Regions from separate parts of the Homo sapiens genome. Here regions 2, 3, 4, 5, 6 and 7 are each linked to region 1. Evidence: promoter capture Hi-C in 16 types of primary human blood cells and fetal thymus (Javierre and others, 2016). All regions are on one chromosome and are shown on one strand. Each heading gives the region's core, a stretch centred on a gene start or on the middle of the fragment in contact. The rest is flanking DNA. Distances are from core to core; before and after follow the strand shown. Region 1 holds the start of HTR7 (5-hydroxytryptamine receptor 7). Region 2 holds the start of PANK1 (pantothenate kinase 1). Region 3 holds the start of KIF20B (kinesin family member 20B). Region 4 has its middle 52 kb from the start of LINC00865. Region 5 holds the start of FGFBP3 (fibroblast growth factor binding protein 3). Region 6 overlaps LOC105378424 (a long non-coding RNA gene). Region 7 has its middle 7.8 kb from the start of LINC01374.

Region 1 (4,304 bases), core at 1,187-3,686:
TGTATACACTTACTATGTGTATTGAGTGCACTCTCCTAATTCCAGTTGCCACAGTCAGACTGTAAATACATATGTTTTGTCATTCTTAACTACTGTAATTCAGAACTTCAGCTGCCAAATTTGGTGCTAATATTCTCACATATGCAGTTCATGCTCTGCTCTTAAGTAATTCCTTGTTTGCTGTCAGCAGCTTCTACCATGATATATAAAATGGTAGAATCAATTTAAAGAAAAATAACCTAAATTGTTAGCTAAATGGAGCTACAATGTGTTTTTCTTCTTGAAAATATTCCCTTTTCTATTATTTCCTTTATTTAGTAATTATAAACCCTGGTCAAGCAAAAAATACATACAGCAGAACATTTTAAGTACCAGCAAACCACAAACAGCAGTGTTTTCAAGAAGAAAAAAAGGAAAATCTCAGTTTCATGCTAGACCATCCTTTGAGGCACTGTCATTTTAAGTGTGGAGGCATCAATTATTTCCCCTAGGCTGAAAGATCTACACATATAAAGGTTCTATAGATCCACTAAGAAAATAAGCAACCATTTCTCTGTATCATTAAACACAACAGGATACTAGTCTTGAAACACCGGCAAAATTCTGAGTGTGAATATTAAGGTCTCATATTTCAGTTTCAAGTGAAATAGAGTTGTTTTAGGCCAAAGAGGATTGAGACCATACTTCAAGTTGTCAACTGCATAATATTTCAAGGGTCAAAGACTAGCTCCATTTCAAAAGCCTGTAACCTTACAGCCTGAAGAAACCCTGTGGGTCTCCTAGTTCAATATGACACCCAAGGCAGGAATTTTTCCCCTAGCATCCCTGACAGATGGTCAGCCTCTGTTTCAATTACTCCAGTGGGGGAGTTCTCAAGAGAAGGTTCCCAAGGGCTATGATGAAAGGCTAGAACCAGCCATTCAGACCTGGAGGAAGGCTCCAGTCAGCAAGCTCGCAAGATACAGACAGCATTACCAAACATTGAAACCAGACTTCCACAAGCAAGAATGCGATTCCGAACTGACCATCATAAAGATGCAATGTGTAAGACATACAAACCCCAATTCTAGAACCATCCAAGGTCCTTTTACTGGCCTAGGGAGTAGCTCCCACAATGGGGTAAGCAAGGTGGCTTTTCTCCGACTTATTATTATTATTTTTTAATGACTCTTTAAGGCTCACAGCAAGGCTTGATCAAGTCAGGGAGCACCAAATCCCTTCCTTCCAAAAACCAAGGCAAGGGACCCGCTGGTGGAAATGCTAAGGCTTAAAATACTCTTAACTTTGGTCTTAAATTCGTCACTACAGTAAACCAGAACATTTCCGGTTTTTCTTTTAAAGATGTACATAGGCTATGCCGTAACCGAAGTTTGGTTGGTGTAGGGTGGATTGGGGGGAGCGGTGTTTTAAGCGCAGCCCTTCATCCCGCCTTGAAGTCTAGCTTGATCCTCCCAGGAAAGGCGAGCGCGCGGGGCTGAGCTGCCAGCCGGTCCCCAGCCGGAGCCTGGGACGGGGCGGTCCGGCCCTTACCTGTCAATGCTGATCACGCACAGGGTCATGATCGAGGCCGTGCAGCACATGACGTCCATGGCGATGAAGACATTACAGAAAAAGTGTCCAAAGATCCACTTGCCCCCGATGAGGTCGGTGACGCTGACGAAGGGCATGACCGCCACAGCCACCGAGAGGTCGGCCAGCGCCAGGGACACGATCAGGTAGTTGGAGGGCTGGCGGAGCTTCTTGACGAAGCACACGGAGATCACCACCAGGCAGTTGCCCGCGATCGTCAGCAGCGTGATGAGCGTCAGGATGGAGCCGATCACAACTTTCTCGACTCTGCCGTAGTTGATCTGTTCCCCACAGCCGGAGGCATTGTCCGGGGGCGCGTCCCAGGTGGGCGCCGGGCTGGCTGTCACCTCGCTCAGCAGGTGCGGCGCCCAGGAGCCCGCGACCGGGTCGGCGCCACCGTCGGGGCTCAAGTCGGGCAGCCCGCGCCCCACTTCTGGCAGAAGGAAAGAGCGGAGGTGCCCGTAGAGGTCCGGGCGGCCGCTGCTGTTAACGTCCATCATCGCGCCGCCGTGTGCCGCTGCCCATGGAGCCGGCGCCCCGGCCACGCGCCTCCGGCTGCCGGCCCCGGGGCTTCACCTCACCGGTTCCGCTCCGCCCGGCCCAGCCATGGGGCCCGCGCCGACCGCTGGGGGGCGCCTGGCTCTGTCTCGGAGCCCCGCACTCCCCGGACCCCCGGCCGCTGCGGGTAACGCGGCAGCGCGGCCTCACGGGGACTCCCTGCGGGAGGCGCTTCGGCCCCCGACGGACGCCTGGGACGCGCGGAGTCGAGGGAGCTCGGGCTGGGCTCCGCTGGCAGCTCCACAGTTCGCAGCAGCAGCTCGGCTGCGCCGAGAGCGCCCGGGCGGCAGCGGCAGAAGTTGCGGAGTGCGCCCCGCCCCTCGCGCCCGCCGCCGCCGCCGCCGCCGCCGCCGCTCCCCTGCGGCAGCCGCGCCGCGTCCCCGCCGCCGCCGCCTCCGGCCGCTGCCCGCTCCCTCGCGCTCCTGGGACGGGATACCCGGGCTGGGCAGGCACCGCCGCCTCTCCCGCGCCTCCCTACTGTGAGGGGGCGGCGCTGCACGCGCCTCCCGGGATCCCGGGTCCCCTCGCCCGGGAAGCTGTCCTTGCCGCATGATAGATACTTAGAACCCCTCCAGCCGACCCCAGCCTCCGCACACTAGTCAGCCACAGTTCAGTGGGGGCATTTTTCTTTTGTTAAGAGGCCTAATGAGCCAGCGGATGTTTGGGCTCATTGCGAAATGAAGAACCTAGAGGGGGATTTTATTTTTCTTAATTAAACAACAACCAAAAAAACGTCTCTGAGCACTACACTAAGCAACAAATAGGTACTTCCGTTTTCTATTTTGACCGCTTATGGGAAGAAGCGAAGATGGAAAAGAAGCAGCCGAATGGGGTGAGGGTGGGAGCTCCGAGAAGAGGAAGAAAGAAAAAAAGGAGGGAGGGGGATTCCTTAAGCCCCTGGCACCCAGGAGATGAGGATGCTCTGGGGACAAGGCCTCCAAGGGGGTTACACCCATTTGGACTAATCCTTCCTGGATGTCTAGAAACAGTCCTCTCCGCTCTGAAAATAGACCCTGATTGCCTTTATATTTAGACTTCAAAGCCTAATATATTGAAAAGAGAGTTAATTTTCCCGTAGCATTCTGGAAGTCTTACACATAAGCAAAGAAATGACCGGTTATACTCTTCTATAAAGGAATCCTGGAGGTGTATGTTGATTTAATACCTATTGGCTAAAATTCCCCTTGGTATCCAAACCCTGTCAGAGCGGCTGATTTTTATTATTTGTGAGACTTGCTTCATTCCATTTTGTTTGAAGGTTTCATTGGAAGCCAGCAGTGATTTCTGTAGTTTAAGACTCTAAAAATAATCAAATCTGTTTTTTCTTGTTAGGCCCTAGCGGATTATAAATAAGAAGAAAAGGAATAAAAACCTCAAAGTATATTGATCAGAGTGCTGAATAGTACTTTCATTCTTCAAGGTGGGTATTAGCTCTGTTTTTCCAGATAGGGAAGGTTGTTAGCTCTTGCAATCAGCTGGTAAGGAATAGTTATGTTTCAAACCCAAGTTTATCTGATTACTATGCCCATATTCTTCCCTGTACACATTCAGAAAAAGTTTTAATGGAAAAAAAAAAAAGCCCTAATGTTCACAGCTCTTTTGCTGTGATCAACATTTCAGAGGCTCCTCTCTGCCTAGGATAAGCAAACCAATCCATTGAGTCAGAGGAAGAGTTGAATATAATACCTAGGCCACAAAGCAATATTATCTAACAGTTAAGATGGATGAGGAAATTTCTTCAACCTTACTTATGTTAGTTATTCTCTGTTTCGCTTTTCTTGGTTTGTTATCTGTGGTGAACCACGGTCCGAAAATATTAAATGGAAATTTTCAGAAATAAACAATGTGTAAGTTGTCAATTGCACACTATTCTGAGTAGCGTGATGAAATCTCTATCTTACCCAGGATATGAATCATCCCTTGTCCAACATATCCACACTGTATATGCCATCCACCATTAGTCACTTAGTAGCCCTCTCTCTTACCAGATCAAAAAAAAAAACATAGTATATATACGATTGGGTACTATCCGGGGTTTTAGGCATCCACTGGGGATCTTGGGAGAGAGGAAATCTCAGACAAAAGACAAATAGTTTGTTGCTGGAATGCATCTAAGAAACCATTTGTTCACCCTTCAGTGCAGAGGAGGAAATAGAGGCTGGGAGAAATTTTATAAC
Region 2 (4,304 bases), core at 981-3,480, 1.2 Mb before region 1:
CAAGTTAAGGCTCAGGTTAGTTTTTCTCTGTCTTCAAGATATTCCTAGAGGGTGTATTTTCAATTCCTCAGAAGTTATTTCAAGAGGTGTTATATCCTCAATTAAACATAGAAGATTAAGCTAGAAGCTCCCTTTCATTATATTTTAGCTATTTTCATTGCAAACTCTAGTACAATCTGTCAATGTAGATAAGAGAAATAACTGAAGTATAGCTTCAAAATAAGTGAAACAGGTTTATAAATCACAGGTAATCAATATTAAGTCCTGACTTTTAAAATATTAATACTAATGAAAGTCATTTTCTAACAAGTATCAAAAACAAAAGCAAATAAAAATTCAGGTGCTAGATTACAACCTTACACCTTACAACTGTAGCCAAATCTGCTGTTTGGCTTTAAAGTTCCACACAAAATCTTAACCTACAAATTTAACATTTCAAACCCACAAAATACAAGTACCAGAGTCACCCACAGTCATGTCAAAGGGCTTTCCAAGGTCTTAGAAACCTTAATCCAATACAGAAAAGCTAAGAGTCAAAAAGACATAGAAACAGGGAAAAGTGAAGGTGTTATTTGCCAAACATTAAACTTTCACAGAAATCCAAAACCTACTTAACAATTTCCCTATATCGAACAGCATAACCTCTATGCAAATGCAGTCATTTATTAGCATTTACTGTACTTACTTTGCTTTTTGCCATTTATAAGCTTCATTAAAGACACCCACAAAGAAGTAACCAGTTGAATGAGCTTCAGTCAAGAAAAACCAGCTGTAAACTCGACCTACAAATTTACATCCCACAGCGTCCTGTGGGGAAGGTACACTTTACAAACTACCATTATATATACAAGCTTTAGATTGTGAAATAATGCACTTCGGCTTTCTCCGGTGTACATTACAATTACAAACCCTCAACTCAACCTCCCCCTTCGTTGAAAAAAAAAATCCACCTCCAATCCTCATTGGTCCACATAGTTCCGGCCCACATGGTATCAGTGGGTGTGTCCCTCCCAAAAAACCCTCTCATTGGCCGTGAAGAAACAGCTTCTAATAGGCTGTGATTTTGGGGGGTAGTTAAACTCCACGCCTCCAGACTTGCGCTCTCCAATAGACCCGAGACGCTGCTGGCTACTCTGTGATTCAAAGGGCAGGCAACCCCAGTAGGACGCGCTCAGAGAAGCGAGAGGGGTGAGAAAGGAGAGAGCACCCTCGGTGTGCCGCCCACTTTATCCTCACTCCTGGACCCCAGCAAATGTTCACACACCTGCGTTTTCCCAGCCACCAATTAGAAGGGCGGACAGAGCGTTCGCTTATTATATATCCTTGACCTAGGGACCCGCTCAAGCTTCGTGTCCAATCCTCGTTCTACTGATAGAAGCGAGCAAAGGGCAGGCTCAGGCAAAGACCTGTAGTGCTTGATGTCCCCTAGGAAAAGAATCAGTCCCGGGAACCTACTCTGTGCAGTCCCTCGACCGCAGACGCGGGGGCGCACGGGGCGTGCTGCGGCGCCTGCCTCAGCCGCTCCCAGTCCCGGGCCCCGCACGCTGCGTCTGCCTTGCGCCCGCGCTCCCCTCCCAGCGGGACTTACGCGGCCTGTTCTTTCTCCCCGAGTCCATCCTCCTCCGCAGCCGGCATTTCTTGGCCGGGGAGTCATGCTGAGGGAGCAGTGGCTGCGGCTGCAGCTCCGGCAGGAGCGGGAGGCGCTGGGGCGCCGCGTCGCTGCCGCCCACTGGACCCCGGCTGCAGACGTGCGGCGGCTGGACTGGCGGCGGATGGAAGCCGTTGTGCAGCAGCCCGTTCACAGCGGCGGCGCTGGTGCCCACGGGGGCCCCTGGAGAGTGCGGGACCGAGCGCTCCTGCTGCCCGCTGCGGTCGCCCATGCCGGGGGCTGGCGGGGCTGTGCGCGGGCCCCGGCTCAGGCGGCCTCGCTGGAGGTCATTCTCCGGCGTCTTTATTTCCCCGGATCCTCCCTGCGGCTTCCGATTCAGCAGCCGCAGAGCCGGCGCCTGGGGATGGCGAACCCGGCGCTCCTCCCCTCCTCCTGCCGACTCCCCCACCTCCTCTGCGCCCTGCCCCCCGCGCGCCGGCCCCACGGCGCCGGCCTGGAGCACGCCAGCCCCGGGCGCGGAATCGGGGATCCCCGCGCACCCCCAGCCGGGGCTCCCGCCGCCCGCCTTCCCCTGATCCCCAGGCCGCGCGACTTCAAACGCGGCTTCCTCGCCTCCCAGACTGGTCCCCGCCACTGAGCATGCCCAGTCCTGCCCGCCACCGCCACCGACGAGTTTCAACATGGGGAATCAAGTTCTCTGGGCTTGCAGAGAGGAGATGGGCGGGTTGGGCTTTGTATGGCGATGTGAAAACCAGATGGGTCTGGGAGAGACAGCGAAAGGAGCGAACCGTTTCAGGAGGAATACGGGAGGAAGACAATTATTTGCAGAGGTGTCAGGTTTGCTAATCCTGTCCCCAGTGAGCAAGATACCTTTGCAAGGTCATTCACGTTACCCTCCCCGCTTTGTGAGTGTGTGCTTACGCGCGCGCGCGTGTGTGCCTGTGCGTTTGGTTAAGTGACCAAACTACTTAGAGGCCTGAGGGGAGGGAGAACAATTATTTATAGAAAAGTTGGCAGACTTGGGGAGGGAGGGGAGTGAAATTTCTTTGCTGGCACGCACACACACTCAAACACCATGTGGTCTCATGGAGTTGTCTTTTGCAGGGAGGAAACCTAGGAATACAGTGTAAGGACAGTGAAGGACAAAACTGTAGGCAGGATTAATCGGTGCTGAAAGAGATCAAGTAAACAGGAGCAATTCCATGCTATAAAAAGCACTTTCCTCACCCAGAAAGGACTTCAAAAGACAATGTCATGTTATTTATAGAGTAAGGAGTTGCCTCTTCTAAGAAGGGAAGGCGGCATCACGTGGTGACCAGCACTACGAGCTTTGGAGTTAGCACTGGGTTCAAATTCCAACTCAGCCACTGAGCAAACCCAGATAACGTTAATGCTCAAGGTAACACTTCTAGCAATAGGAAACGGGACTGTCCATGCTCACTATGCAGGACTAATTTGGGTGGTGAATACCTTCCCAAAGTTATGCAATCTCTTGAGGCCTCACTTTCCTATCCATAATGGGGCTGTTGTGAGAAAATCTACTAAAAGTACCTGGTACAATCCTGGCACACAGTAAATGCTCAGAAAGCTAGTTTTCCTTATTACGCTATTATGATTAGCAGTTCACCCTTTGTTTCGACAGGGGAACAAACCATGCTTACAGCCGTATTTATTGTGTGATTTATTTTGTGATATTCTCCGTGATTTGCAATTAATCTACAGAGGAGTCAGAGTCTGGCAGGTGCTGGCTGGCTACTGGGTTGCTGGGCCCCTGGGCTTCAGTGCATTCAGCAGCATCTAGGGCTTGCATCTGGCAATTCCTTCCAGCAGAGCCTTACCTAGAATCAGAGCTTGAGAACCATGGGGGCCACTGGAGCACTCTGGTCTATCCACTCTTGCATACTTTTTTCGTATCAGGAAACTGAGCTGCAGACAGATGGCTGAGGTTATTAAGAGCAAAGGTGGGACTAAACTCCAAATCTCAACTCTCTTAGCTTCCCTAACCTTATGCTATTTAAAGACAGAGAAAAAAACCCAGGTGATCTGGCCCCTCCCTACCTCTCCTGCCTCATCAGGGGCTCCCTGTGCTGCCTTCAATTCCTTAAACAACATTCTGCTGTTTCCATTGCCTTAGAGAAGTCTCTTCTCTAAGACCTCTTTTGTCTACTAGACTCCAACTTTAGATCTCCTCTTTAACTTCTCATATTTAGAGAAATGTTCCCTGACCCTTAGGGCTACATTAGGTCTCCCTGCCATACCCTCTTCCTACTCCTTGTACTCTGTTTATGACTCCTTATCATTTTGTAACTATACCATGCATCTGTTCCCTCATTTGTAACTTGAGAATAATAGGACATCACTGAGTTGTTAGACTGATGAAATGCATAACACATGCGTAAAATTAATTCAAACTTCAAGCTATTGGAACTTTTTTGTGAGACTTGAGAGAAATGTGGCTATGCAGCTACAACTTCTGCTTTTTTTTTTTTTTTTTTTAAGACAAGGTCTCACTCCTTCACCCAGGCTGGAGTGCAGTGGCACAGTCGTAGCTTACTGTAGCCTCCAACTCCTGGGCTCAAGCGATCCTCCCACCTTGGCCTCCCAAAGTATTGGAATTATAGGAATGAGCCACCATGCCTGGGCTTGCCTTTTTTCCTTGTAAATAATTAGGAAGACCGAGCAGGGCCAGAGATAC
Region 3 (4,304 bases), core at 850-3,349, 1.2 Mb before region 1:
TGGTGCTGAAATGAAAAACGTCGGAAAAAGTACCTTTAAAATCTGGATACTTTTCTGCAACTCCTCTGCCATCTTCCAAGTCCACATTATCATTATCTTTTCCTGGGATCTCTTGCAACAGCCTCCTAACTGGTTCAACAGCATCCTCCCTGGCTGCCTCTAGTTTCTCCAGGAGATTAACCTTTTCAAAAGATAGATGCACATTGGATTGCACCATGCCCATGCTTAAAACTGGTTATCCAGTAAGCATTTCGTAATACTCAAGTCAGTAACTTGGCTAAGGCTTACAGGGTCTGGCCTTGGCCCATGCCTACAGATTCACTCCCCTGACTCCTCCCCATGGTCTCTACCCAGCCACATCAGCTTTCATTCATTGTTCAACAAATATTGATTTGCTTGTCTTGTGTTAGAGAGTCATTGAGGATACATTAGCGACCAAACAAAACACAGTTATTCTACTCACAGAACTTAGATTTTACAGGGTGGGGGAACAACAACAATTGCTAGTTGTAAAAAGTATAAAAATGAAATTGAACCTGCAAATAAAAAAAGAGTGCTCACTTGAGATACAGTAGCCAGGAAAGTCTTCTTTAAGAAGGTACTATTTTAGACGTAACCTAAATGATGAAGGGAAGTGCCACGTGTTGAATGGAGAAGAGAGAATTTAGGTACAGGGAACAACCCATGCAAAGGTTCATACATGCTGGAAAGAAGTTGGTGTTTGAGGTATCCAGAGCAGATCAACTTACTGTACAGTTAGTGGGGAGTGAGGTCGGCTGACACTTGATTGTGCAGGACCTGGGAGGCCATGGTAAAGATCAGAATTCTATTCCTTTTCCCCCCTCCTCTTTTTATTTTATAAAATCTGTTATTTTAGAAAGTTGCAAGACTGGTACGATGTACACCATTATACCCTTCAACTAGATTCACCAATTACTAATATTTTGCCACATTTGCTTTCTCTATTTTTTTGCCATATCTTTTGAAGGTAAGCCGCAAACACTGTGACACTTTGCTGCTAATTACTTTAGCAAGCGCCTTCCAAAAACAAAGGCATTCTTCCACTTAATCACAAATTAATTCTCACATGCAATCAATTTAAAACTGATTCAATATCATCTAATATGTAGTTCATATTTAAATTTCCCCAGTTGTCCACAAATGTCTTTCGAAGTTTTTTTTTTTTTTTAAAAACTATGAACCAGCCAAGATTCACAAATTTCATTTGGTTTCTTTTGACTCTCGACTAAAGTAATTTTCCACTTCGTTTTTTTCTTTTTCCTGTCATGACACTGACATTTTTGAAGAGCCTAGGCCTGTTGTCTTGTAGAATATTCTACATTGTTTTTTTCTGATTGTTTCCTCATGATTAATGTCAAACATTTCTAGCACAAATACTATCGGGTGATATTAGCGATGCTAAGTATCTTCACTTGGTTAAGGTATGTCTAATAAATCTCTTCAGTGTAAAATTCTATTTTCCCTTTATAATAAGAAATGATCTGTAGGGTGATTCTTTGAGATACTAACATCCTCTTCCCTACAACCTTTCAGTTAATTGTTTGTTTTAGCATCTTGCATTCATTAGTTTTAGCATTCATAAGCTTACCTATATCAATTTTTAGACTGGCAGTTGCACAATGGGGATGCAGCGAGGGAAGTGACCCTCCGGATCCCGGGATGCCGAGCCTTTTTCTGCCCCGTAGGGACAGGACTGGGAAGTGGCTAGCCCGCCATTCCTCGGCCCGTCCTTAGGGGAGTCGCAGGACTAAGTGCAGTGGCAGTGGCCTCACCTCGGGCCTTCGCCACATCTTTATTGCCTCAAGGACAGAATTGGAGATCGGTGTCCCAGTCAACAGCGTGGTACTTATGACAGCCGCGAGAAAGCGCACTACTAAAGCCCGGCTAGCAGAGCTGGGAGGCAAACCAGACCGTCAGCACCAGGGCGGCCCACGCCTGCTTCCGCCCATTGGCTGCCCGCGTTTCAAGACCCGCCCCCATATTGGAGAGCTTCTTCCGGTAGCCACTGGAAAGCCCGCAGCGCGAGCCGGCTACGCTCCCTGGCGGAGCTCTGGACGCCCCACCTACTCCCAGCGTTCAGTGCGGTGCCCTGGCCGCCATTGTTTGAATTTGAAAACGGTAACATCGCAGTGCTGCTCGCGGGTCTGGCTAGTCAGGCGAAGTTTGCAGGTGAGGAGGTGACCCGCGGGAATGTGTGGGGAAGGAGGTGGGTGACTGCGCATGTATGGGGCCTAAGGTGGGGAAACGGCTTTGGCAATGTGGACATGTTCCGACAGGGCTCATACCCCAGTGGAGGTTACTGTCAGGAACTGGGTTGCGGAGCGATGCGAACACGGGGTACGCAGCGAGGAATGAGTCATACTAATTCGGTTACGGTTTAAATCTCGCCTCCACTGCTAATTAGCTGAGTGACGCAAGACAATTCATTTAATCTCTCTCTGTACCTTAGTTTTCTTATCAGTTAAAAGGCTGCAATGAAGTGTCTATTTCTTTCGGCTTTTGTGAAGATTAAATGGTAATGTGTAAAGTTATTAGTGCTGGCACACAGTAGGTACTAAATGTTTGCAGTTATTAATATTATTATTGTTGTTGCTTCTGTTGTTGTTGAGGAACAGGCCTGTTTTGCCACACCTAGTTTTCTGAAGCTCTGAGGTGAGCAGTTTGCTCGGCTGGTAGGTAACACGGCCTTTTTGCGGGGGGAGCCCTGTGGTAGCCTCTGTGCACTTATTTCCAGACTACTCCTACTGGTCCTTGGGGCTTGCCCTTCTAGGGTTTTGCAGTGCCAGGCTGAAGAGTTTGTGGCACAGTGACTGCTGTCATTCCCCAGTTTAGAAGGCTTTCTCCATCTCGATTCGCTCGCTGGTTCAGTGATGCATGTCTGGCACAGTTCTCTTATATTTCTTGCTAAACTACTAGTTTACAGAAGTTCACGCCTTATGGGTTAGGTAGTGTAACAGTGTATTTATCTTACATGTCCAAGACTCCAGATTTTAAATTGTAAAAATAACATAAAATACTCATCGATTAGTTGTGAAGACTTTTTTTGAGGCTTTGTGTTGTAGACCACATTCAGAAACCTCATTCAGCAACAGATTCTGCTATTTTTCACCAAAGTCTCCAATTGTGGATTCTTATTGGAGAGAGGGTAAATATGCAGTTTTCCAGTCAGAGCAGCCTTTTGAAATGAAAAATGAGGTCTTGGAGCCTGCTGTCACGAAAGATAATATTACAGACTAGGACCGACTTTTTTTTTTTTTTTTGGAATAGTATTTTCTTTATAACCATTATTTTAAGTCATTAGGTAGTCTTTATCCCTGCATAAGTCGCTGAATTTGTTATAGGGGATACAGAGTGGTATAAGGCAAGGTTCTTGCCATCAAGAAGTTTCCAGTTTAGTTGGGAAGGCCACGTATAAGTAGAAGTCATCTAAAATCGCAAGAAGTTACAGTAAGTCTGAACACTTTTAGAAATGCTAGGAAGTAGTTTGTTCATTGAAAAATGAGCATATGAACAAATACTTTATTATAACTGCTTTTAGTACATAGGAATATTCTTTTTAATTCAGCAATTTAAAAGATTTATCAACACTTTTCTTTAAACCAAAAATTATTATTTGAAGCCACAGGTGTTTTTTAGTTTTCTGGGCATTTCCATGAACTCTGTGTTATGAAATGTCAGGCCGGTACTTTAACGTTTTGCAGATGCTCCCCCCTCTGCACCCCCTTACCCATGATCTAGATCAGTGCTTTCCTTAGTCTTTTTGCAATTTAGGGGAAAAAAGTCAACTATGTTCTTGTGATACGTTTAGGAATTTCAGCCTGATCAAGGAAAAAGATTGACAACAAGATGGCAGGAATAAACAAGGATTTTGACAGGATTGTAGGCAAAGGAAATCCGTCTCAGTTTGGGACCTTTTCTAGACCAGGGTGAGGGGCCACCATCTAGAGGGGAAAGAGGGCAAGGGGAATGGGGAGTCGGGGAGGAAAGAATCATAGAGGGGCTTACATGCCTAAATGATGTTGCACAGTGGAGAGTCTCCGGATCATAGAAACTCTCAAGGGCAGCAGTGGCTTGGGGGTCTTGATAATCCCGGGTTTTATGTGTCTGGCAAATGTTGGGTGCAGTTTCATGGGGCATTCAAACCTGGCAGGCTCTAAATGGCTAAAAATATGCTTATTTTGGGCCATTTTGAAAGTAAATGGATGCTTCAGAATTTGACTTTGGCGCCCCAGCAGGCTTTTCCCTTTTTTTTTTTTTTTTTTGACGCAGTCTTGCTCTGTGTT
Region 4 (4,304 bases), core at 991-3,490, 1.1 Mb before region 1:
TCCATCCATGTTGTTGCAAATGACAGGATTTCATTCTTTTTTTACAGCTGAATGTTTATGTCCCACATTTTTTTATCTAGTCATCTGTTGATGGACACTTAACTTGCTTCCAAATCTTAGCTATGGTAAACAGTGCTGTAACAAACATAGGTGTGCAGATATCTCTTCTATTTCCTTTCTTTTGGGTACATACCCAGCAGTGGGATTGCTGGACCATATGGTAGTTTTTTGAGGAAGCTCCAAACTGTTTTTCATAGTGTTTGTACTAATTTACATTCCTACCAACAGTGTACAAGTGTTCCCTTTTCTCTATATCCTCATCAGCATTTGTTATTGCCTATCTTTTGGATATAAGCCATTTTAACTGGGGTGAGATGATATCTCATTGTAGTTTTGATTTGTGTTCCTCTGATGATCTGTGATGTTGATCACCTTTTCACATGCCTATTTGCCATTTTTATGTCTTCTTTTGAGAAATGTCTATTTAAATCTTTTGCCCATGTTTTTTTTTTAGTCAGTTTATTAGATGTTTTCCTATAGAGCTGTTTGAACGCTTTACATATTCTGGTTATTAATCCCTTGTTAGAAGGATAGTTTGCAAATGTTTTCTCTCATTCTGTGAGTTGTTTCTTCACTTTGTTGTTTGTGTTCTTTGCTGTGCAAAAGCTTTAAACTTGAGGTGATCCCATTTGTCCATTTTTGCTTTGGTTGCCTGTGCTTGTGGGGTATTGCTCTAGTAGAAGTCTTTGCCTAGGCCAATGTTCTGGAGATTTTCCTCAATGATTTCTTATAGTAGTTTCATAGCCTGAGGTCTTAGATCTACATCTTAATCCATTTTGATTTGTTTTTTTGTATATGTGAAGAGATAGGGGTCTAGTTTCATTCTTTTACGTGGGGATATTCAGTTTTCTCAGCACCATTTATTAAAGAGACTGTCTTTTCCCCATTGTTAGTTTTTGGCACCTTTGTGAAAAATGAGTTCACTGTAGTTGTGTGGATTTGTTTCTGGGTTATTCTGTCCCATTGGTCTATGTGTCTGCTTTTATGTCAGTACCAGGCTGTTTTGGTTACTATAGCTCTATGGTATAATCTGAAGTCAGGTAATGTGATTCCTCCAAGTTTGTCCTTTTAGCTTAGGATAGTTTTGGCTGTTCTGGGTCTTTAGTGGGTCCATATAAATTGTAGGATTATTTTTTCTATTTCTGTGAAGAATGTAATTGGTATTTTGATAGGGATTGCCTTGTAACTGTAGATTGCTTTGGGCAGTATGGACATTTTAACAATACTGATTTGTCCAATCCATGAACATGGAATATTTGTTCATGTTTTGGGGTCCTCTTCAATTTCCTTCATCAGTGTTTTATAGTTTTCATTATAGATATCTTTCACTTCTTTGGTTAATTTCTAGGTATTTAATTTTATGTGTGGCTGTTGTAAATGAGATTACTTTTTAAATTTCTTTTTCAAATTGTTTGCTGTTGGCATATAGAAATGCTACTGATTTTTGTACATTGATTTTGTATCCTGCAACTTTACTAAATTTATCAGTTCTAATAATTTTCTTGTGGTCTCTAGGTTTTTCCGAATATAAGATTATATCATCAGCAAACAAGGATAATTTGACTTCTTCCTTTTCAAGGATGCCCTTTGTATCTTTTTCTTCTTGGATTGTTCTAGCTAGGACTTCCAGTACTATGTTGAATAGCAGTGGTGAAAGTGGGCATCCTTTTGTTCCAAATCTTAGAGGAAAGGCTTTCAGTTTTTCCCCATTCAGTATGATACTAGCTGTTGGTCTGTCATATATGGCTTTTATTATGTTGAAGTATGTTCCATCTATATCTAGCTTTTTGAGGGCTTTTATCATGAAGGGATGTTGAATTTTTTTTGAGGGCTTTTATCATGAAGGGATGTTGAAATGCCCTTTCAACATGAATTGAAATGATCATATGGTTTTTATTCTTCATTCTGTTGATGTGATATAGCATGTTCATTGATTTGTGTATGTTGAACCATCCTTACATCCCAGCAATGAATCCCACTTGGTCATGATGAATGATCTTTCTAATGTATTGTTGAATTCAGTTTGCTAGTACTTTGTTGAGGTCATTTTGCATCAATATTCATCAGAGACATTGGCCTGCAGTTCTCTTTTTGTTGTGTCTTTGTCTATTCTTGGTATCAGGGTAATACTGGCCTTGTAGAATGCATTTGGAAGTATTCCCTCCTCCTCTGTATTTTGGAATAGTTTGAGTAGGATTGGCATTAGTTCTTCTTTAAATGTTTGGTAGAATTCAGCTGTGAATCCATTGGATCCCGGGGTTTTCTTTACTGGGAGGCTTTTTATTACGACTTTGATCTCGTTACTTATTGGTCTGTTCAGATTTTGGATTTCTTCCTGATTCAATCTTGGGTAGGTTTTTTGTATCTAGGAATTTTGTCCATTTCTTCTAGATTTTTCAATTTACTGACATGTAGTTGCTCATAGTAGCCTCTAATTTCTGTGGTATCAGTTGTATTATCTCCTTTTTCATTTCTGATTTTATTTGAATCTTCTCTCTTTTTTTTCTTGGTCTGGCTTAAGGTTTGTCAATTTTGTTTAACTTTTCAAAAACCAACTTTTTGTTTCATTGATCTTTTGTATTTTTAATTTCAATTTTGTTTATTTCTGCTCTGATCTTTATTATTTCTTTTCTACTAATTTTGGGTGTGGTTTGCTCTTGCTTTTCTCGTTCTTTAAGGTGCATTGTTAAATTGTTTATTTGAAGTTTTTCCTGTTTTTTTTGATGTAGGCACTTATAACTATAAATTCCCTGTGAGAACTGCTTTTTCTATATCCCTTAGGTTTTGGTATGTTGTGTTCCTATTATCATTTGTTTCAAGAAATTGTTCAGTTTCTTTCTTAATTTCTTTATTGACCCACTGGTCATTCAGGAGCATATTAATTTCCATGTATTTTTACAGTTTCCAAAATTTGTTATTAATTTCTAGTTTTATTCCATTGTAGTCAGAGAGGATGCTTGATGATGTTTCAATTTTTTTGAATGTGTTAAGGCTTATATTGTGAGCTAAAATGTGGTCTTTGAGAATGCTCCATGTGCCGAAGAAAAAAATATGTATTCTGCAGCTCTTGGATGAAATGTTCTGTAAATATCTGTTTAATATTAGATCCTTGTGGTCTGTAGTACAGATTAAGTCTGATGTTTCTTTTTTGATTTTCTTTGAAGATCTGTCCAATGCTGCAAGTGGGGTGTTGAAGTCTCCAGCTATTATTGTATTGGGGCCTATCTTGCTCTTTACTTCTAATGATACTTGCTTTATATATCTGATGTGCCAGTTTGGATTCATATATATTTACCATTGTTATATCCTCTTGCTTAGTTGATCTCTTTTTCATTATATAATGACTTTGTTCTTTTTTATAGTTATTTTGTTGAAATTGATTTAGTATGATATAACTGTAGTGACTCCTGCTCTTTTGATTTCCATTGGCATGGAATATATTTTTCCCTCTCTTTCTTTCAGTCTGTGTGTGTCTTTGTAGGTGAAGTGTGTTTCTTGTAGGTAACATATCAATGGGTCTTGTTTTTTCATGCAGTCAGTCTGTATTTTAGATTGGAGAGTTTAGTTCATTTACATTTCATGTTGTTAATGATAAGTAAGGGCTCACTACTGTCATTTTGTTGTTTGTTTTCTGGTCTTCTGTCTTTCTGACTTCCTCTAGTGAAGGTGATTTTTCTCTGGTGGTAATATTTAATTTCTTCGTTTTTATTTTTTGTGTATTCATTGTATGTTTTTTTTTGGTTTGAGGTTACCATGAAGCTTGCAAATACTATCTTATAACCCATTATTTCAACCTGATAACAGCATTATTTATTTACATAAACAAGCAAAAATAAAACTAATAAAAACTCTACTTTTTAACTTCATACCCCTGCTTATTAACTTTTTGTTGTTTCTATTCATATCTTATTGTATTGACTATGTCTTGAGTTGCTGTAGTTGTTATTTTTGATTGGTTTGTCATTTAGTCTTTCTACTTAGGATAAGAGTAGTTTACACACCATAGGTACAGAGTTATAATGTTCTATGTTTTTCTGTGTACTTATTATTACCAGTGAGATTTGTTTTTGCAGGGGATTGTTTATTACTCATTAATCTCCTTTTCTTTCTGATTGAAGTACTCCCTTTAGCATTTCTAGTTGGACAGGTCTGGTATTGATGAAATCCCTCAGCTCTTGTTTGTCTGGGAAAGTCTTTATTTCTTCTTCATGTGTGAAGGATATTTTTGCTGGATATACTATCCA
Region 5 (4,304 bases), core at 1,062-3,561, 1.1 Mb after region 1:
TTAGTCACCATTTCGTTAAAAAGTAGCACTTCTAGTGGCACACCCCTGTAGTCCTGGCTACTCCGGAGGCTGAGGCAGAGGATCACTTGAGACTGGAATGTCGAGGCCGCAGTGAGCCATAATTGCACCACTGCTCCAGTCTGGATGACACAAGACCCTGTCTCAAAAATAAAAATAAAGTAGCACTTCTAAGCCAAGTGCAGCTGTGCATGCTTGTAGTCCCAGCTACTCCTACTCCTAGCTATTCTGGAGGCTAAGATGTGAGGATCCCTTGAGGCCAGGAGTTGGAGACTGCAGTGCCTATTATTACACCTGTGACTAGCCACCGCACTCCAGCCTGGGCAAGCCAGACCCTGTCAGGGAAAAAAAAAAAAAAAGGTAGCTCTTCTAAAAGAATGGAAAGGAAATCATTCTGCAAAACTTTCCTTGGAGCCAGTTTTGACCTGTGAGGCTTCTGTCCCTATAGAGGTTATCTATGACACCCACCACGCCGCATCCAAGTTTATACCAATTCAGAAACGGAAAAAAAGTCTGCAGTCTTGTTAGCTGATTAAGTGAGAAGACATTGATTCAACCTGGCTCAGGTTGGCAATTGCTCATGGCTGCATTTAATAGAAATGTTAAACAATAAACATTGCATCCCCCTCCCCACATGGGACTCACATCACTTTAGTCACTCTATCTCCCCCTTATTCTCAGCCTCCCTCTGCATCGATTTCTCTCCCCAGTCTCCAGTTTTTGCACATTTAAAGTACGCCTATTTCTGTTTCCATTATTTTTCCTGCTCTTAATCAGGACTGAGACTTTTCAAAATTTTTAACTTCTCTGCTATCCCAGAGATTCTCCATACCCCTTACACTCTCATCCCAAGCATCTCACCCTTACCCTTGCCCCCACCCCCATTCGAGAACCTGGACTTCTCCCCAATCTCTATCACAGTACCCCCCGGTCTAAGACGCCCTTAGCTTTCCCTTCCCCACGCCTCCCCCATCAACCCTCCCTAAGCCGGCAGGCAGTCTCAGCCGTTCCAGAAATTGACAAAGAAGTTGCAGAGGGAGTGCCACTTCTCAGCGCAGTAGGTCTCCGTGAGCTCCGCGTTCCCGTCCAGCCCGTCGGGGTCGGGCCCGGTCCCCATGGGTCGCTCCTCGTTGGGGACCAAGGCCGCCTTCCTCTTGCCCTCGTTGGTCTTCCTCTCTGAGGGGTTTTCTTTGGGCGGTGCGCTTTGGGGAGGCGGGGTCCCAGCGGCTGGGCCGGACGCACGCTCCCGGGTCCGCCCCCGGTTCCGGGCCCGGGGCTTGGACTCCCCCGCGAATCCCGCGACGGTGGGGCGTGCGGGCGGGGACGCGCGGGGCACTAGCCGCAGCTCGGCGCCGTGGCCCTTCTTGCCCGCGCACAAGCGGGCCTGGAGCGGCGCGGGGTCGTGACAGGGCCTCCGCTTCTTGCGCAGCCCTCCCAGCACCTGCTTCCAGAAGTGCGCGCGGCGAGCGGCGTAGGCTGCGCAGCGCTCCGGATGCCCGCGGTAGGCGCACTGGTGGCGCGCCCCGTCCGGGCTCTGGCAGCGCAGCGCCAGCTCGCTGCCCGCTGCGGCCTCCGGGGCGGGCAGCAGGAGCTGCCAGCTGCACGCGTGCTGCTCGGGGCTGAGGAAGCGACCCGAGGAGCCGCCAGTGGGCCCGGGGACCGGCTCCGCCACGTTGCTAGCCGCCCCTTTCTCCCTCCGAGCAGCCGCGAGGAGGCAACCACTCAGCAGCAGCAGCAGCGACGGCGACAGCGACGCTCGCAGCTTCGGAGGAGTCATGCTCCGCGGTTTCCGCGCTCCGCTGTTCTCAGACCACGTTTGTCGGGGCTGGACCAGGCAAAGAGCATTCCCCAGGACCTGCGGACAGAGGCAGAGACTGCCACCAACTGAGCCACACGCAGCGCTTCGCCCAGACACATGCACCTGCGAACTACTCTTCCGCAGACTTTCTAGAATCTGCAGCCTGCGAGGAGACCCTCTGAGGAGCTTTCCTGGGGAAACTGCTTACTGTCTAAATAATCACTTTCGAACCATGTATGCATTGAGATTTTCTTCCCCTTGCAAATACGATAGCAAAACGATGCGTGATAATTGCCCCCTCTACCCCTTCCTTCATTTTCTCCCTTCTCCAACCTGCAATAAACTATCTACAAAATCATTTCAGATGATTCCTTGGAAACATGCACTTTACTACACTTTGAACTTACCGAGTTCTGGGAGAGGCGCCAAAGCCTTATTAGGGTAGAGGGAACGACTGCACGGGGGAGTAGTCTGTTTTAGCCGGCTCCCTGTGAATGAACGTGGTATCAATGGAACAGAAGAGGCCTACCCTTCTTCGCCCCTCCCCGATTTCTCTCACACTGGGAGACTTATCACCGCCGCGCTTCTCTCTCTCTCTCCCTCTCTCTCTCTGTCTCTCCAGATGGATGATGGAAGCGGTCCTGTAGTATGAAATACAAATCTTGTATTTTGCTTCCAATGTTTAAAATAATCAGGCAAAATTAACCAAGTTTTTCTTCTTTCATGTACTTAACCATCCAAAAAATAAAAATTAAACAAAAGATCTAAGTTTTAAAAGTTAAATAAAATGAAACAAAACAAACTTCAGTATTCTAAACTAGGCATTTTTTACACAATTATATCATTTACATTCTATTTCTCATATTCTGAGTTCTACATTTTTACCTATTATTTCCAATAGCCTTTCTTAAGACTCTCAATCTTAATAATTGTTACTACTAATAAAAATATAATATCCTAGTTTATTAACATACAATAGTGCCCAGCAGTTCACCCAGGAGTGGACATTTGGGCTTTTTATTATTTTTAGGTATTAGAAATCAGTTATAAGGGTCCTCCAAAAATTAGAAGTTTAAAAAAATTATTTGTATTATAGTAGTTGAACGGTAAGATTACCAATTGAAATGGTATAATAGTTAAGAATGTGAGACCAGCCTGGCCTGGTGAAATCCCGTCTCTACTAAAAATACAAAAATTAGCCAGGCGTGGTGGCAGATGCCTGTAATCCCAGCTACTCAGGAGGCTGAGGCAGGAGAATCACTTGAACCCGGGACAGGGCGAGACTGCCTCTCAAAAAAAAAAAAAAAGAGAGAGAGAATGAATGTGTTCTTGAATCTTGAAAATGTTACATTTAAGCAAAGCTGCTTTTTCTGGAGGGGGGGATTGTGTGTGTGTGCGGGGGTTTGTTTGTTTGTTTGTTTGTTTGTTTGTTTTGAGACGGGAGCTCACTCTGTCACCCAGGCTGGAGCGCAGTGGTGCTATCTCGGCTCACTGCAACCTCTGCCTTCCCGGTTCAAGCGATTCACCTGCCTCAGCCTCCCCAGTAGCTGGAATTACAGGTGCCTGCCACAACACCCAGCTAATTTTTAGTGGAGAAGGGGTTTCACCATGTTGCCCAGTCTGGTATCGAACTCCTGACCTGAGATGAGCCACCTGCCTCAGCCTCTCAAAGTGCTGACCAAGCAAAGCTGTTTTTTCTTTCTTTTTTTTTTTTTTTGCTCTTTTTAAAATTTTTATTTAGAAGCCTACTTGTAGAAGTTAGCATAATTTTACAGATTATTAGAAAAATTCAATTATTTTCTCTCTGCAAACAGTTATAATAGGTTAGGAATAATAGATTAGAAATGTACTACATTGCAAAAACAGTGGCCTATAACTATCTGTACATTTACTGTGCACCTTAAGGAAAAGAATTTGACAGTGTGCTATACTTACACTGCAGGTAACATATTTTTATTCTATCACACAAAACTGACCAGTGGTAGTGCTTGAATTTATAAATGGCCATTAAACAGAATATTTAAACTGAGATGTATATTTAGCATGCTAAAAAGTGAAAAAAATTTCAACTGAAGTTCTGTGGCTCATCAGTTCAAATGTTTCATGGCATTTTTTTCTTTAAACGAAAAATTTTGATATTGTAAAACAAATAATTTTACATAATAAATGCAAAAGTATAAAATTTTCTAAATTTTTAGAAAGAATATTTCCATTCATTTTGTCATGGGTTTTGTGTGGCTCCTCTTAATATATTAATGATATTAATAAGACACTGGTCCTATACCACTTTCAGAGTCCATCTTCAATTAAAAACTGTAACAAAAATAAACAGTATGTAGAGTAACACAAAGTAAATTAAATATACTAAACTCACACAACAGGTAGAATAAAATGAAACCAAATTACATAATGGCAGGTTATACATTTTAAAGACTCTCTTTCCACTTAGTCAAATAAGAAAGACATTGAAATGTTAACTTACTGATTT
Region 6 (4,304 bases), core at 1,271-3,770, 1.0 Mb before region 1:
AAACAAGGAATTATGAAACAGTGGATTGACTGTTGTGATAGGTATACAGGTGAAGTAAATGAATTACTGATTGTAAAAAAAAAAAAGAATTTAACCCAGTATTGAAAAATGCAGTGTTTGAGTTGCCGTTAAATGTTTCTTTGACGTACATCTTGAAATACAGAAATTGCTTTTATTGAGGAACAATAGGACTCATTATATAAGGGCCTGACTCAGCTGTGGGGAGGCTGGGCCATGCTTCTGTTCTGGCTGCTCAGAGGACTCCCAGAATGGCTGGAAAATGGTCACATGGATTCCCTGGTTGAAGGTAGAAAAGGGAAGAATATGACTGACACATAAACCTGAGTTTATCTGAATTTTTGATGTTTGGCACAGGGCACTACGAACTTGCTAATGGTCTATTGAGAAGACAAAATTGCAAGCCAAGGCCTTGGAACAAGAAAGCATTAGAAATATTTTCTTCGATCCTATTTTGTCTGGTGGATTACCATGGCAATGGGCTACTGGGAAGAGACAGTTAGTTCTACTAACACATTATTTTGTATGTGAAAACTTTGCTCAGAATGGTATTTGGTCTAGGACTTTGCCTGACTTCCATAGTGTGGGGAACTTAGTGTTTGAATAACATTGCCTAACAGATTCTGGTGTTCAAGTGTTTTCTAAATTTTAAAACCTTACCTCAGGACCTTGAAATAGGCAATGATATGTGGAGATACAGATCCTGGCTGCTATGAGCACATAAAAATAATAAATATGTTTAAATAATAATGCTTTAAAATAATAACAAATATTTTTTATTATTAAGATGATGAATAAAAATGATTAATATAAAAGTGATCAATTGTAAAAATTCAGAGAAAATAAATAACAAGAATGAAATAGTATTTATTAGTATCTCCTCCCTAACAAGGTAGTTATTATTTTACCCTCATTTTACACATGAATCAGCTAATACTAAGGTTCACCACTCAGGTCCGTTTGACTGCAAAACTCACACTCTGCTATATTGTTTCCAATTCTTGACTGTCATATGAATTCTGGTCACTGCCTTGAAACTGACTACTATAAAAGAGAAGTTGCCCCAAACCTGGTGTGGGAAGGAATCTTTTTACATGATGTAATTTGCAACCTCATTCTGAGAAGAAATTAACATTCCTGACAAAATGCTTAAGTAATATTCTGGAAAACATTAATGGACCAAAGTCTTGTTCTAGGAAACCAGTCACCTATCTACCCCACTGAATGACATTCAACAATCTAGTGGCTTTTAACAAACATTCTCTTCTTTTTGTATTTTCCTATCAAATGTTCTTATGAAGAATGTATTAATATTTCTGATTGGCTTACTGGAGGCCTTTGTCCTTGAAGCAAGATTGTAACAAACTTTGACAGTGCCCATAACTAAAATGTCTGAAGGGTTTTTGTGAACACTCTAGACTGGTGTATTTGCTGTGGAATCAAACTTTCTTATCAATCCAGTGGATGTGGATCCCCTCACCTGCCTACTGCTTACCAACCTCCTCCCTGCTTCTTCGTCATTTCTTCCACCCCTCAGTATTTCTGTTCCTTGTTGATCTGGACTGGAGACATTGAGATGGCCTAGGCCCACCCAGTTGGAGCCCTGTTTTGGAGTATCTTTTTCCTTAGATGGTTGTGAGTCACTTCTCAAAGGCCAAGTGGAATTTTTCAGGAAAAATATCATGGGAAGGATACCTCATGAGGATAAGCTTAACTGTCCAAGATTTATCCTGAAGAGAGGGAAGGATGCACTGGGAGATAAACACCTGGCTGTTTTAAAAGGTCATTCATTCACAGTCTGATCTGGCTATCAATAGAGACCGTTTCACTGAATCCTGGAACACAAGAGAGAGTAGTTAGTTACCTTTGCAGCTTAAGAATGCTTAAGCCAAGTAAGAGAAAATACCACTTCCTCTGGTGGACAGTAAGTCAAGGGAAATATTATGAGTTTAAAAATGTTTTTATATATTCACAAATAAAAGAACCATGATTAAGAGACTCTGAAATGCTTGGAGAAACACTGTTCTTGTTAACATTATAGTTAGGGGCAAATCACCTCCCAAATGAATTGTTGAAGATGCTATTGGCCTGAATGGACCATTGATCCAATCCAGAAAATTATCATTTCTTTTTGTTTTGGCTGGAAGGCTTAGCTTTTAACATTTTGACAACAATTATAGAGAAAGAGCAATATTGCTTATTTAGCATCCTGCTGAATTTCCTTATTGTAGAATTTTCATCTAGAGTTTGGGTAACTCTAAAATGCTTCAGAGGTATTAACAACATTGCAGTCTTCACCAAGTGAGGAAAACCTACAAAAAATGTGTGTGTAGGTGCAATGAAAAATTTTCAAGTCAATGTAAATGTGTTATAAGAGTGGAGAACCTGGAATTTTTAGAAGTAACTCAGCCCTAATACTTTCTGTCAAAATATAGAAGGCCACAGCTTTAGAAAATAAATACAAAACCTCAAACTTCTGTCCCTTTGAAGAATAAGAAAATATGAAACATAAAAATAAAATATCTGGAAAATACAGAGACATTTTGTTTTGCATCTTCATTTTCTTATTATTGACAAATTGAAAATTCCTGTTTTGTATTAAGCACAATGTTTGCTGTCATAAAACGTTTAAGCAGTGTGATCTGGGTTTATTTTTTGGAGTTGCCATCAGGGAGGACAGATTGCTTTTTTAAAAGTTACATTTCATTTTTTAAACCTTGAGCTAAAAAGCCTTTGGAGAATTGGGGGCACTGTCAGTGAGGTGCCTAACTCCTAGGGAATAGAAATAGAATGGCCTGGATGAAATATTTTTGTAAACTTCTCAAAATTCAAAAGTGTAACTATATGAATTTACTTTCTATTTAGTCCAGTGGATAAAAAGTGAAAGTTTGCCTTAAGGTTCAGAGTCTTGTGCTAAATTTGTTCAAAATTTCATGTGAAATAGTTACCAAATGGATACTTCCACCACACTTATCTACTTATGGTATCTGGTATTAAAAATAAAACCAAAGGAAGAAAAAGGCTGCTAATAATGGCAATGAAAACAGCTCATTCATTGGCTTTATTCCTTAGGCAAGGATTTCCAGAGCACCTTGATAGGTCTTAAGGATGTCAGATAGTGGGCATAGAGTGATGAGGAAGACAGGCACCATCCTTACCCTCATGGAGACTCTAGTTTAGTAGGAGAGGCAGGCCAAATGTGCAAAGGCCTGCAGGAGGCAGGAAAGGGACCTAAATTTGTGAAATGGTGTGAATTGATGGGAAGTGTGACAAACCAAAAAGAGAATGCACTGATTAAAGCTTTTCAAAAGAAATACTGTGTGGACCATGGAATGCATCTGTAAGCAGATTAGTCCTACATACCATTTGAAACCTCTACATTAAAGGAATAATTGCACAAATAACCATGCTAACCATGCAGGAAATAAGGACTATAAGGCATAATCCAAGATGTCATGAGAAAGTATAGTCATGATTCCTGACTATAATTCCTGAGGAAGTTGCATTTTACCAGAGACCCGAAAGATTTGATTAGTAGACTTAGTAGGCAGTAGGGACTGGAGACAGAAGATTTAAGGTGAATCTAACAGTAGAGGGCACAGGATATCTGAAACTTCCATGTGATTGGAGCCCAGTGAGTGAGGGGGGGAAGCAGCGAGGGATGAGCTGAAGTTTTAGGAGCCAGACAATGTAAGATTGAATAGGCTATGTTGAGAATTTAAACTTACTCTAAAACTAATGGGAATTTCTTAAAGGATTGTAAAAAAAAGGGAGGATTCGATCATATATATATATATATATATATATACACACATATATATGTATATATACATATATATGTATATATACGTATATATACATATATATATTACAAGCATGTTCTTATTGAGGTGTGGAGAATTCAGCAGAGGAAGAGGTCAAGGTGGGATGTGGATAGAACAGTTAGGAAGCTGTTGCAGCAGTTCAGGTGAAATGGACTGGGCTTTGGTCAGGTGGTTGGCCATTGAAATACAGAGACATTTTATCATTTGGGATTTGGAGTAGCTGTAACTGAAACTCCAAATTACAGTGGCTTGGACAGATATTTATTCCTCTCTCGCATAACTGAAATCTGTACATAGCCTAGAATTCAATTGGTGGCTCCACCATTCTTAGGGACCAGATTCCTTCCATTTTGTCAATACGTGACTTCAACCTCCTCATTGACGGTGGCTGCTTTAATTCCAGTCATGTTGTTTTCATCCCAGACAACGTGAATGATGAAGGGAGGAAAAAAGATACATCCC
Region 7 (4,304 bases), core at 1,060-3,559, 1.0 Mb before region 1:
GTGTTATTGGGGTATATAAATGCTACTGATTTTTGTACATTGGTTTTGTATTCTGAAACTTTACTGAACTTTACTGAAGTCATTTATTATGTCTAGGAGTATTTTTAAGGAATCTTTAGGGTTTTCTAGGTATAGGATCATGTCATCAGTGAAAAGAGATAATCTGACTTTTATTTTTTTTTCAGTTTGGATGCCTTTTATTTCTTTCTCTTGCCTGATTGTTCTGGCTAGGTCTTCCAGTACTATGTTGAATAGGAGAGGTGAGAGTAGACAGGCTTGTTCAGTTTCAGGTCATAGGGGAAATGCTTTTGGCTTTTCTCCTTTCAGTATGATGTTGGCCATGGGTTTGTAATGTGTGGCTTTTATTATTTGGAGGTATGTTCCTTCAATGTCTAGTTATATCATGAAGGGATGTTGGATTTTTATCAGATGCTTTTTCTGCATTTATTGAGATATGTTTTTTGTTCTTAATTTTCTTTATATGGTGAAACACATTTATTGATTTACATATGATTTACATATGTTGAACCATCCTTGCATCCCTGGAATAAAAACCACTGATCACTGTAATGAGATGAACAGGGTACCTCAGTTAGGAATGCAGAAATCATCCACCTTCTGCGTTGGTCTCACTGGGAGGTGCAGACTTGGGCTGTTCCTATTTGGCCATCTTGCCAGATCTCTCCCCCAATTCCCTGATTCTGTCAACAAAGACCCTGTGCTCAGATGGGAAGTGCCTTGTTTAAGGTTACACAAACATAACTTGAGCTTTAAGTAAGTGTGAGCCTTAGGAGAGGAGAGAGGAGAGAGGAAAGAGGAGAGAGGCCGGGTTTGGCAGGGGTGGTGGAGTGACTGTGGGAGAAGGCAAACACAATTTATGAAACAGAGTGTGTGTCATAGATTCAGGGAAGGAAGCAGGCCATTTATCTGAGGTGGATGGTTTGTGTAATGGAGTTAGCTGTGAGATGAGATGGGTAAGAGGTTGGGGCCAGATTATGGAAAGCCTATGTATGAAATGAGGAGCCATTGAAAATGTTTGAAAGGAATGCTAGGAGATCACAAGAAATAATAACTGAGAATTACAGCTGATCCTGAGGTTGCTCAGAGGTTTGCTCAGAGGTTGCTCAGAGGCTTTCATTCTACTTTAACCATAACTTAACAATAAAAAATACATTTTACACTGAATCAGCACATGCACACACACACACGCACACACACACAGAAACTTAAGCTTGACAAGACAAGGATTAACCTATGTGTGCTATACTCTATTTTCCACTTCATTCCACTAAACTCTAAGCCTCCCTTTTTTGGAGACTGAATTTATCCGGGGGAGGGGACTGGTGGACGGCATCCTAAGTGAAAGGCGTAGCGTGACAAACTCCGGGAGCTTTGAGGGCAAAGTGTGATCTGGGTAGGTTTCCAGATTTAGTAAATAAAAATAGAGAACACTCAGTTCAATTTGAATTTCAGATAAACAATATTCCATAGCTTGGGAAGAGCAAGACATTCTGTGTGGCTGGAACACAGGTGGGTGTGAGAAAATGGCAGAGGCGAGTCTGGCGTGTATTGGGATCATGTTGTGAATGCTTATGAGAGAATAACCATCTTTTCTGTAGCCTCTTGCTCATATTGAAGGATAATTTGAGAATAATTATTGAATGCTTGAAAAGAAATTTAAAAAATACACACAGAAAATATGTAACCCTTGAGTCCTTAGCTCATTAACAATAAAGGTGGAATCCTCGTGTGTGGGTGGAATGATTATTAATTATTAACCATTGCATCTGAGTAATTCTTTCTTTTATCCTGATGATTTTGTTTCTAAGATGCCTTTGTCCAGGTGTTTAGTTGAGAAGGGGGAATGAGCACATTTTGCCACATATACTTCTTATTATATTCCAGCCTGAAGCAAGAATTTAAGTTATTAACAGTAATGGAATTAATAACGTGTGTGTGATCAACTAAGCAAGTCTTTGCTCTGTTTAAGTAGTTTTCCAGATGTCATCAATGCAGGTTGTCTGTATTTCATCCTCTCTTCCCTGTTTGTGGACCCTGATCTTCACTATATCATAGACATGGCTCCTGGCAAGCCAGGGAAGCCACCTGACCCAAGCTGAACCAGACAGAATTCAGTCTCATTTGTGGTTTTACTGGTAACTCAGGAGCTCATGGTAGCCATGGGTTTTTTTTTTTTTTTGCCATATGCAAAATCAAAGAAAGCCAGTCAACACTATGGAATTCACTGAAGAAGCAATTCAGTGAAGGTGGGGGAGAGTATATGCACTTGTATTAGAGGAAAAGCATGCTAGAATTAGAGAATGAAAAGTGAAGACAAGCAAAGAAGGGAGAGAGAGAGAGTGACAAGAGGGGGGTGAAAAGGAGGCAAAAGGAAGGAGGGAGGAGGAAGGGGAAAAGGAGAAGGGAGAAGGAGGGAGGAAGGCTGAGAGCCAAGCCCTACTAGTTGTGCAATCCCTGGGTTCATTACTCTCCTAAAGTGACTTGGTTGCATTCTATCTGGTTTGTGAGATGACCTTTCACCTTCTGATGAATTGCCTTTATGCTTAGGATCACTACAGTGGGCTCTGTTACTTAAAACAAGAGTACTAATTAATAAATCAGATCACTGAAGTCATATTGACCCACTGTGATTGCTATGGTTTGGTGGTGATTATGAGAAGGGTATTTACTCAGCAGGTAGAACTTGGCCATAGAACTCCTTCATGGCAAATAGGAAGAAGCATGGCTTTTGTTAAACTGAGCACATACATTGCTGAGCATAACACAAACTACCCTGGTGCATAGTTTCCCTTTTCCATCTAGAGCTTGTTCTGGATTTGTTCTGGGAAAAGCCTATGGGTTTAATTTGGAGCTGGTTTATTTCAGTCAGTTGGGGAGTTGTTTTGTGGTACTTTTAACACTACTCAAACAAATGTTTCCCAAGGTGAATTCTCTGTTCAATGAAACTAGCAGTTACACAGTGGAAAAAAGAAAGAAGGTGGTTCTGTGGTCAGGCCATGTTTGGGTTAACTGCTTTGTAGTACCTCTCAAAGCCTTTACTATGCTAGTTTGCATTGTAAATTTCTAAGAGGCAAAGAGTTGATGTAGCATTTCCTGAGTTCACTTGACCACAAAGCGGGATATGTCACTGGACTAGTGTCTCCCAGGACACACTGGGGATAAGATAGATAGCTGAGCACATATGAGTGGATGGCCACCACTCCAGTGTGCAGGACTGACAGTGAGAAGGACCTGTCCAGTAGCTGCCTCTTACACATTGACCTTGATTTTAAGGTGACAAGAAAATGATCTGACTGCCAGTGATTCTCCAATACTCTTGACATTTCTAAAGAACAGGTTATTAAAAAAACATCTAACACTAAAAGGGAAGCTTGGCTCAGTTTATATTCAGATCAAAGAGACTATGGACAAGGGATCTGTGGAGAAAATTCAGGCAGTCTGTGAACTTGAATGGGAATAAAAATTGCATCTTTATTTTCATTAACTTCAGGCTGAAATTTAGCATTTCCTTCAGTTATTAATGTAGCAACAGACCCCATAGTTTGAGCAGCACCCATTATTTGTCAGTAATAGAAATCTCAAATGTATTCACATTACATCACAGTTCCTGCAAGTTTCTCTAAATATTTATGCTTCTTGTTACTTTGAAATTATAGTTAGGCCTACCACTAGGTCTTGTTACTCTTCTTCTTATTTTTTTGGATGTGGAGATGAGGTCTTGCTATGTTGTCCAGTCTGGTCTTGAACTCCTGGCCTCAAGCAATTCTTCTGCCTCAGCCTCCTTAGTAGTTGAGTTTATAAGCAAAAGCCACCATACCTGGCCAAACAAAATGTTTTTGATGATGGCCACACATTAAACACGGCGCCTGGCCCATGATAGTGCTTAATGAATATTAACTGATGTTGTTAATCAGTTAATCACGACCATCATCATCGAACTAAGCTCCCATATTTGTTGAGTGTCTTAATTTAGACCCAACATCAGGATATGAGGCAAAGTAGGCATTTTAAAAATAAATACTAGTGAAACTAGATAGAATTATCTTCCTTGTCACTTCTTTTGGGTATTAATTATATATCAGAAAATTTCAGGGCTGGGTGTGGTAGCTCATGCCTTTAATCCCAGCACTTTGGGAGGTTGAGGCATGAGGATCACTTGAGCCCAGGAGTTTGAGACCAGCCTGGGCAACACAGTGAGACTCTATCTCTTCAAAAAAAAAAAAAAAATTAGAGAAGCATGGTGGCACATGCCTATAGTCCCAGCTGCTTAGGAAGTTAAGGTG

What was found. Contacts are between HindIII fragments. The CHiCAGO score rates a contact against its expected background, and 5 or more counts as called.
Region 2: a contact is called between the fragment with the promoter of PANK1 here and the fragment with the promoter of HTR7 in region 1, in 4 of 17 cell types (M0 macrophages, M2 macrophages, erythroblasts and 1 more). The highest score is 7.2, in M0 macrophages.
Region 3: the fragment with the promoter of KIF20B here is called in contact with the fragment with the promoter of HTR7 in region 1 in 8 of 17 cell types (M1 macrophages, naive CD8 T cells, M2 macrophages and 5 more); the score reaches 7.5 in M1 macrophages.
Region 4: a fragment that was not itself captured here is called in contact with the fragment with the promoter of HTR7 in region 1 in 8 of 17 cell types (naive B cells, M0 macrophages, total CD4 T cells and 5 more); the score reaches 8.5 in naive B cells.
Region 5: a contact is called between the fragment with the promoter of FGFBP3 here and the fragment with the promoter of HTR7 in region 1, in 6 of 17 cell types (naive CD8 T cells, fetal thymus, neutrophils and 3 more). The highest score is 7.1, in naive CD8 T cells.
Region 6: a contact is called between a fragment that was not itself captured here and the fragment with the promoter of HTR7 in region 1, in 9 of 17 cell types (M0 macrophages, naive CD8 T cells, naive B cells and 6 more). The highest score is 9.7, in M0 macrophages.
Region 7: a fragment that was not itself captured here is called in contact with the fragment with the promoter of HTR7 in region 1 in 5 of 17 cell types (M2 macrophages, total B cells, M0 macrophages and 2 more); the score reaches 7.6 in M2 macrophages.

The regions. Positions count from the first base shown.
Region 1 is chr10:90,855,603-90,859,906 of GRCh38, forward strand. It overlaps HTR7 (5-hydroxytryptamine receptor 7), which reads right to left and starts at 2,437. Exons shown (of 4, transcript NM_019859.4): 1 at 1,531-2,437. The coding sequence starts at 2,069. RefSeq lists silencers at 2,035-2,084, 2,105-2,474. The HindIII fragment of the contact is 8,867 bases long and covers 1-4,304 here.
Region 2 is chr10:89,643,012-89,647,315 of GRCh38, forward strand. PANK1 (pantothenate kinase 1) reads right to left here and starts at 2,231. Exons shown (of 7, transcript NM_148977.3): 1 at 1,589-2,231. The coding sequence starts at 1,880. It overlaps PANK1-AS1 (PANK1 antisense RNA 1), which reads left to right and starts at 1,103. Exons shown (of 5, transcript NR_184344.1): 1 at 1,103-1,188. RefSeq lists silencers at 1,005-1,054, 1,755-2,234. The HindIII fragment of the contact is 3,186 bases long and covers 1,344-4,304 here.
Region 3 is chr10:89,699,491-89,703,794 of GRCh38, forward strand. It overlaps KIF20B (kinesin family member 20B), which reads left to right and starts at 2,100. Exons shown (of 33, transcript NM_001284259.2): 1 at 2,100-2,190. RefSeq lists a silencer at 1,622-1,701 and enhancers at 1,746-2,261, 2,262-2,778. The HindIII fragment of the contact is 4,302 bases long and covers 1,603-4,304 here.
Region 4 is chr10:89,774,981-89,779,284 of GRCh38, forward strand. No RefSeq gene overlaps it. Among named protein-coding and RNA genes, the nearest start is that of LINC00865, 52 kb to the right of the region's middle. The HindIII fragment of the contact is 3,153 bases long and covers 665-3,817 here.
Region 5 is chr10:91,907,175-91,911,478 of GRCh38, forward strand. FGFBP3 (fibroblast growth factor binding protein 3) reads right to left here and starts at 2,312. Exons shown (of 2, transcript NM_152429.5): 1 at 2,224-2,312; 2 at 1-1,873. The coding sequence starts at 1,795. The coding sequence ends at 1,019. FGFBP3-AS1 (FGFBP3 antisense RNA 1) reads left to right here and starts at 955. Exons shown (of 2, transcript NR_199602.1): 1 at 955-1,075; 2 at 1,723-2,174. RefSeq lists a silencer at 1,185-1,754 and an enhancer at 1,658-1,952. The HindIII fragment of the contact is 14,773 bases long and covers 1-4,304 here.
Region 6 is chr10:89,823,470-89,827,773 of GRCh38, forward strand. It overlaps LOC105378424 (a long non-coding RNA gene), which reads right to left. Exons shown (of 3, transcript XR_946196.3): 2 at 1,714-1,853; 3 at 51-297. Among named protein-coding and RNA genes, the nearest start is that of LINC00865, 3.9 kb to the right of the region's middle. The HindIII fragment of the contact is 1,591 bases long and covers 1,726-3,316 here.
Region 7 is chr10:89,843,946-89,848,249 of GRCh38, forward strand. No RefSeq gene overlaps it. Among named protein-coding and RNA genes, the nearest start is that of LINC01374, 7.8 kb to the right of the region's middle. The HindIII fragment of the contact is 2,160 bases long and covers 1,230-3,389 here.